Linked DNA regions of Homo sapiens: region 2 is linked to region 1. Evidence: promoter capture Hi-C in human tissues and cell types (Jung and others, 2019). All regions are on one chromosome and are shown on one strand. The core of a region is centred on a gene start or on the middle of the fragment in contact, and the rest is flanking DNA. Distances in the headings are between cores, read along the strand shown. Region 1 holds the start of MLANA (melan-A). Region 2 overlaps BRD10 (bromodomain containing 10).

Region 1 (4,427 bases), core at 867-3,366:
TCCTCTCGAGTCTGGCTGTGGGCTGAGTCACACACACCTGCCCGTCATCCTTACTGGCTCCTTGGCAACTCACTTTTATTCTGTCTGCAAACCACCTTCAGGAATTTGAGTGGAGGAGACAGAACAAGGATTGAGGAGAGAGGCATTGTGATCCTGAACAGATGTTTTTCCACTTGGGAACCTACAGATAAGACCCAATAGTCAAAAGTGCACCCAAAAATGGCAAGATCCAACCTTATACCATTCCCATCTTCCTGCCTGTTTGGCCTCAGAGAAGCTTGACTGAGCCCCTTATAGAAGCACAGAATCTCCTCCCCTTGTTGCCAGGGATGTTACTGTCTGGGGAGATAAACACTAGGGAGATTTACGAGCAGGCATGTACTGGTGGAAGTCAGCAGGCTGTGTCAGCAAACGGCAAACTGGAAGCCCTGCTGGGTCTGGTTTTGAACTTACTCTTCAGCCGTGGTGTAAGAGTGGCCGTGCCCCTTCTTGGGGTAACCATAGATGAAGTGAGCATCTTCTCTTGGCATCTTGTAGGGTCAGGGCACAGGACACCTAACAGAAGGAGCATGTGGGCATCATTAATGCATCCAAAGCCACCCTATTCATCATCTCATAAAGACCCACAACAGCATCCTCACTAGGTGACCAATATCCATAGCCAGGACCCTTTGGTTTCTCTCTGTGAGGGGATTTGCACCTGCTTCTTTCATTCATATCAAGGGCTTTAGCAATAGCTCAGGTTTCTAACCCCTCCTACTAACTGAAAATTAAGTTCAAAGAAGAAACTACAAACAAAAGCAAAAAAGACTTGCAAGTTGAGTTATTATTTGGTGAAAAAATATTCCTCATTTGCCTTCAATTTGACTCTGCACCATAAACTTCTAGAGAAACAAACAAAATGCATTTTCACTGATTCTCCACCTTCCCTGGCCCAGGGCTGTGGCTAACAAAATTAGAGGAGTTATTTTTCTCCAAAGTTATTGTTGGATATCAATCCCACAGACAAACAGAGGCTATGATACATAACGTGTGTTTCCCAGAGCACCCGTTGCCTGTGCCTCGCGAGGGTGCATGAGGTTGAGCACTGAGCACAACATCTTCCAGCCCAGCTTTTCAGCAAAGGAAACCACCCCACACAGGGGCTTCAGCCTGTCCCCAGGCACTCCACCCAAAACAAGCCGAGGAAGCCCAGGACCTGACTTTATCTAACAATGTGTTTCCCTTCCTACTTAAGTCAATTTCTGCTTCTCTCTGGTTCAAGTCCCTTGGCTAGGATTCTTTTTTTTTCTAACTATAACACATACAAATGAACAACAAAAAATATCCATAAACTGCAGTGGCCGTAATTCAAGTACGCTCATTAAAAACCAATAATGGAAGCTCCTTTCCTTATTATTGTGTATTTTTCTGCTCTCTTACTGTCCTCATGAATTTCAAAGGTGTGATCCCCATAGAATTATATTAATGAGCCCCAGTTTAAAACAACAGGGAGAGGTGAGACAGAAGAGTGGGGATTTCGACACATGACCCCTTTCCACTGGGACATTTTATGTGTAATTTGCCCTTCCCAGTTGTAAAAAAGAAATGAAAGTCAAACTCACCAGTCCTCTCAAGTGAATAATATAGGACTGAACCCTGTGTTCAAAATGACAGAATGGAATCTTAATTCTTCATTAAATTGTTTTAATACATCCCATACCTCAAACTCAGAGCCTTGGCAAATGGTGCAGCAACAGCAAATGCGCCTCTTACTACTCAGACCAGGAGAAGTGGTTCTTTAAGTGACAGGAGAACACATCTACCTCAGGGAGGCTGCTTCTCCCCAGCAAGATGCCATCCTGAATAATTGCTTTTCTTCTTGGTAGTGTTGGAGGACTGAGAGAGGATTCAGGAGGAGGCTTTGTGAGCCCTCTGAGGTTGGAGACTGACAAACGTTGCGGAGAAATTCTGTTGATGTCACACATCAGCGGGGCAATGAGGGTAGGCAGAGGACTTAGCCAGAATTTCCCAAATCCTATTCTGGGAGAAGAGGACTATGATTATGGCGAGAAGGCAACGCTCTTACCTTCCTTAATGAGAGTCCTCTGTCTGCTGGCTGGCCGCGTGTATGAAGACTGCTTCTCTGGCTCTTAATCGTTTTGACTTATTTTTTTTCCTGGTTTTGAGTCCCATGATAGTCACGGGTTTAGATTTCTGACGGGGTCGTCTGTAATTGCTAAATTGGCATGAAAGAAACCAACTTTATTCCTTCCTTCAAAAAGTCACAGCTGACTGTGGCCTCTGTTTTCCCCAGTCCCAGTGCTCTATCCTAGGGAAGCCATTTATTTTAAATGTTGGTCCCTCCTCCATAGGATTGCCATGTCACATAAAATATGACATGAGCCTAGTTATAATGATTTAAAATTCATGGTCCGACACCACAATTACTTTTGCACCAACCTAATTGATGTCTAAGTAGGTCATATTCTACCTGCAAAAAGAAAATTTCATCTATCCCTTTCACATAGATGGAAACCCACTATCTCCAGTGGACAGTTAACACCAAAGGCATCACAGAGAACTCATGGAGCTCAGCTGAGGAGGATGCCCAGTTAAATTTGAACTTCAGATAAACAATGAACAGTTTCTTAATACAACTATGTCCCATACAATATTTTTAGGATAAATATGTCCACATATTCTATGGGACATATACACTAAAAGAGTTATTTTTTGTTTATCTGAAATCCACATTTGTTTTTCTCATGTCAGATAGGTAAGGTGCCCATGTCATTGTAACAAGGTTTGAGGGAGGCATATCTCACACGTGAACATGGAAACCCAATCATCACGCTTATGACCCACAAAAGGATCTGAAATCCAAACTAAACTGGGTTCCCTATTCCCTCCCTCATCTCCATCTCAAAGGGTTGAAGAGTCTTTAGGCACAGGTCTGGAGAGCATCTAGTCCCAGACTCTCATAATCAAGAAAAGGAAATAGAAAAATCCCTGAAACCTCCTCAGCTGAGCTCCATGAGTTCTCTGTGATGCCTTTGGTGTTAACTGTCCACTGGAGATAGTGGGTTTCCATCTATGTGAAAGGGATAGATGAAATTTTCTTTTTGCAGGTAGAATATGACCTACTTAGACATCAATTAGGTTGGTGCAAAAGTAATTGCGGTGTCGGACCATGAATTTTAAATCATTATAACTAGGCTCAAACACATTTTTTTTTTCTGAGATGGAGACTCACTCTGTCGCCCAGGCTGGAGTGCAGTGGCAGGATCTCAGCTCACTACAACCTCTGCCTCCCAGGTTCAAGCAATTCTCCTGCCTCAGCCTCCTGAGTAGCTGGGACTACAGGTGCACGCCACCACACCTGGCAAATTTTTGTATTTTTAGTAGAGACAGGGTTTCACCATGTTGGCCAGGATGGTCTCGATCTCCTGACCTCATGATCCACCTGCCTCAGCCTCCCAAAGTGCTGGGATTACAGGCATGAGCCACCGCGCCCAGCCTCAAACACATCTTTATTAATCAAAATAGGAACCATTGCAATGAAGACATTTTTGCCAATGAAAAATAAGTTTGTTTATTCCTGTAGCATACACATTCATGCTTCAAGATTCGATGAACTCTTGGAAAGCATTTTCTGCATCCTGCTGGTTGTGGAAGGATTTTCCCTGCAAAAAGTTGTTAAGATGATTGAAGAAGTGGTAGTCGGTTGATGAGAGGTCAGGTGAATATGGCAGATGAGGCAAAAGTTCGTAGCCCAATTTATTCCAACTTTTGAAGCATTGGTTGTGTGACATGTGGTTAGGTGCTGTCATGGACAATTGGGCTTTTTCTGTTGATTAATGCCAGCTGCAGGTGTTGTACTATTCGGTGCAACTCATTGATTTGCTGAGCATACTTCTCAGATATAATGGTTTCACCGGGATTCAGAAAGATGTAGTGGATCAGACCAGCAGAGACCACCAAACAGTGACCATGACCTTTTTTCGGTGCAAGTTTGGCTTTGGGAAGTGCTTTGGAGCTTCTTCTCAGACCAGCCACTGAGCTGGTCATTGCCAGTTATCATATAAAATCCACTTTTCATTGTACATCACAACTCAATTGAGAAATTCTTCCTTGTTGTTGTGTAGAATAAGATAAGACAACATTTCAAAAAGACCGTTTTTTAAATTTTCACTCAGCTCATGAAGCAACCACTAAATGAGCTTTTTCACATTTCCAATTTGCTTCAAATGCTGAACAACTGTAGAATGATCGACGTTGAGTTCTTCGGCAATTTCTAGTGTAGTTGAAAGAGGATCAGCTTCGATGATTGTTCTCAACTGGTCGTTGTCAACTTCCAGTGGCCAGCTCCTCATCTTCCAGGCTCTCATCTCCTTTGCAAAACTTCTTGAACCACCACTGCCCTGTACATTCGTTAGCAGTTCCAG
Region 2 (4,017 bases), core at 1,454-3,953, 43 kb before region 1:
TTTTGTGAGTTGGGAAATTATGTCAAAACTCAGTGGACTGAATATTAATAAAACTTTCTTAGCATCTTACTAGACTCTGTAGAAAAAGAAAAAAATTATACATCATATATTGAAGGAAAATTAACCCAGAATCCAGCAGAGAGCACAAAGGAGCCTAAATAGAGAGCACAAAGTACACATGTGGATGTTCCACTACTTTAAAATAGAAAGACCTTATGGGAAACCAGTTCTTTAAGATGTAATTCTAATAAGTAGTAGCAGCTGCTTTTAATTAGGACAGGAGATGTTTAAGGCAGATTTACTGACAGCATGAAACACTGATAAATTATTCATTTATTTGTTTTTGAGACAGGGTCTCACTCTGTCACCCAGGCAAGAGTGCAGTAGTGTGATTTTGGCTCACTGCAAACTCCACCTCCAGGCTCAAGCAGTCCTCCCACCTCAGCCTCCCCAGTAGCTGGGACTACAGGTGCACACTACCATGGCCGGCTAATCTTTGGATATTTTGTAGAGACAGGGTTTTGCCATGTTTCCCAGACTAGTCTCGAACTCTTTGGCTTAAGTGATTTACCTTCCTCTGCCTCCCAAAATGCTGCGACTATAAGCATAAGCCCCCATGCCCGGCTAATGAATAATTTTTTTAAAAAGCAATTGAAAAAAATAAGTAAAAGCAGGTCTTAGGAGTTTAAAACTAACAAAATAACTCGTTCATAATGATGACCCAAGTCATCAAGTTAGATTATATTCATTATATTGTCAGAAAATCTGAAAGACTTATACTTTAGGAACATTTTAATCAGTTTTTAAATAACCTTTTGTATCTAAGGAAGAAACCTCAGTTACATGAGAAATGTGCTTATGTAGTGGAACACTTAAAGTGGGCCTTTTCTGTCAGAGTTAGGCGTTGTGAGAGAATATGAAAAAATAAAAGTAAGTAGGATACTGTCCCTGCTTTTCAAATATTTCCCGTCTTAATTTCACTTACTTGGAACTTTTTATGCCCCTCTTATGCCAAATAAACATGCCATTACTTTGTGGTTTAGATTGTGCTGTGAATTGTTTGAGAACCCATCTTTCTGATAGCATATATGGATCTGTTAAAATATCATCAGTTTGTTGGCTTAATATCAATTTATTGAAAACAGTCAAATTCAGATACTCAACCAGTGGTTAATTTCTAGTCCACGGTTCATTCTTTGTAAATGAAAATGGTAGCACATTGTCTCTTAAATGTATATTGTTAGATTTTCTTCCCCGGTGATAGTGAACTACCTTACCAGGAATGTGACCTGTCACCCAGTTTTTCCCCCGCTACAAAGCTGGAAGACAGAGAAACTTGAAATGTTATCATTATTGTTATTGTTGTAGTTTGCCTTCATGCTTTCTATTTAAATGCTAATTTAGAAATATAATGGAAATGTTGGATATACTATTCAATGTATTCAGTGTGGGATGCCTTTAAAGTACAAACGCGTTCCTTTTCTCCTAGTCTTAAGTAAAAATTGGTAAGAGTATCAAGAGAAAATAATAGCATATATAATAGTTCATGTTAGAGCTTCTGTCAGTGTTAAAGTACTTTTTAACTTTTTTCATATTTATATGTATTATACTGTCAAAATAGCACTTTTTCAGGGACTGTGTACCAACATGATTAACATGATGTTTTACCCCCAAAACTGTGAATATGCAGGAATATGTTAGTATGGTGGTAGTTTCTGTAGGTAAGCAGTAAGAAAAATAGGTGAATACTTATTGAATATAGTATTACCTTTTCATGTAATAGTACTTAGACTAAGGAGAATGTCAAATAATTAGTTTATTAAAATACTTAGTTACAGTTTATTATATACTGTTTTTATACATGTGAGTTTAGATTATACCTTTGGATATAGTTAGTGATTTTAAATGAGACATCTTTTAGTGCCCAGCTAACTCAGTCAGTAGAGCACGAGACCCTTAAATAAGACTTCTTTTTGTAGGGATCCATTTAGCTTTTCTAAAAGGTATTTGTGTTTTAATTAAAAAACATAATATGGCCGGGCGCAGTGGCTCGTGTCTGTAATCCCACTACTTCAGGAGGCCAAGGCAGGTGGATCACTTGAGGTCAGAAGTTCAAGACCAGCCTGGTCAATATGGTGAAGCCTCATCTCTACTGAAAAAACAAAAATTTAAAATTAGTTGGGCGTGGTGGCAGGCATCTGTAATTCTAGCTACTAGGGAGACTGAGGCAGGAGAATTGCTTGAACCCAGGAGGTGGAGGTTGCCATGAGCCGACATCGTACCTCTGCACTCCAGCCTGGGCAACAGAGCAAGACCCTGTCTCCAAAAAAAAAAAAAAAAAGAAAAGCGTAATATATTGATATTTAATACCTTCTCTACCACAGAATTTATGTCTGTGACAAGAATTAAACTTGTAACAAAAAATGTTCTGTGCTTCATGTGTCTGTGATCTAACAACATATTTGTAAATAAAAGCATATAGGAAAAAAGCATTCATACTTTTGTTGTATATGTTTTGTACTGTTCTTTTAAATAAAAATGTTATCTCCACAATAATACCATCTCCATTTTAAAAAGCATTCTTTGTATATTTTTATATGATTTTAATTTTTTCTTCATATGACTGCCGATACCTGTTTTGTTTAGATATAATATTACAAGAAAAATCTATGTAAGTAACTGTATGGCTTGTATAAACAAGTGACTTTCACCTAAGTTTAATGTACAAAGTATCTAAATTAAAGTGTGCAAAATATATTTGTTGTTATGAGACATTTAATATAGAATTTATTTATGTCCCTCTTTTTTTCCTTTTTAGGTATCCAATGTCCCCAGCATCAGTAGATTGCCAACTCCCTCTCCTTGCCACACTCCAGCCAGTGTTATGCTGGTGCTGTCATACCCATCCCAGATTACTGTAGCAGAATGCAGTTGTTCTTTAGTTGTGAGGTAAGTTTCCCTCCCGACTCATTTCACATACATAGAGATGCAGCTTTTCTTTTTACAATATTGTGTAGTTTTGTAAGTTATTTTTTATTTTCCTTTATGATTCCTTAAGTTATTAATCTGTTACATTCAAAGACTTATAAAACTGCATGATATAATGAAGGACTTAATCTTGTGACCATAGACCAGTTCCTTGTTGTAGCAATCCCTATGGGGTTATAAAACCTCCAGTGTTTGGTAGTTGGGCCATCTTATGGAAAGGGAGCTGGCAATCTGCAGCTGCCGTGGACATTGGATGAGAAAGCATGAAAGGTAAGCTTCAAATTTAAATTATATTGTATGTCTTTGGTTCCATAATGTACACTTGAAATTCATACTTTTGTTGATTCATAAAAGAAAAATACTGCTTGTCCCTTTATAAAGTGACCTTCAGTAAATATTTGAATTATGAAATTCATGTAATGCATTGAGATTCTCTCAGTATTGTTTGCCTATGAAAATAGTGAAAATTCTAACATGGAAACAGTTAATTTATCCCTGTGTTCACATACTTGTTTATAAAGGAGAGTCAGAACTAAAATTAGATGCATAAAGCTTATTAAATATATTTTTATTAGAGAAAGTCATAGCACTGCTCCACAAATGATCTTTTACTAAATTATCTATCTGCCATTTTTATCTTTGTTTGTGTATTAATCAGTATAGAGAAAGAGTCTTAAGAACCTTTCTGATTTTTATTACATCCACATTCTGTCTTTGTGTTTGAAGACAGAAGAACTTGCTGTTTTGCTTTTAATTCACTCTTAACTTTAGGTCATTATTATTTTAATTATTATTGTAATTTTAAAAGTTAAAATAAGTCTTAGAGATTTTAATTCTTATAATACAGAGATACCTACATGTAAATATAGGTACTTACACAAGATAATCTATGTCTTCTTTAGGAATTGTCTTTGTGGGGTCCAAGAAATACAGCATTGTATAGTGGAAGGAGATTAGACGTTAGTATTTAGAGTGTAGAATTCTAGTCTAATGGCTGCTTCTGTCGGCAAATACAGTTGTGTCTCAGTA

What was found. Contacts are between HindIII fragments. The study calls those that stand out against the background at their distance.
Region 2: a contact is called between a fragment that was not itself captured here and the fragment with the promoter of MLANA in region 1, in 1 of the 25 tissues and cell types used here (lymphoblastoid cells).

Annotation. Positions count from the first base shown.
Region 1 is chr9:5,888,578-5,893,004 of GRCh38, reverse strand. MLANA (melan-A) reads right to left here and starts at 2,116. Exons shown (of 5, transcript NM_005511.2): 1 at 2,069-2,116; 2 at 454-555. The coding sequence starts at 530. It overlaps LOC124902341 (small nucleolar RNA U13), which reads right to left and starts at 2,855; the gene lies at 2,749-2,855. It also overlaps a transcript of BRD10 not described here. The HindIII fragment of the contact is 14,558 bases long and covers 1-4,427 here.
Region 2 is chr9:5,932,683-5,936,699 of GRCh38, reverse strand. All of the region lies in intron 5 of BRD10 (bromodomain containing 10), which reads left to right. Among named protein-coding and RNA genes, the nearest start is that of MLANA, 44 kb to the right of the region's middle. The HindIII fragment of the contact is 3,336 bases long and covers 1,036-4,017 here.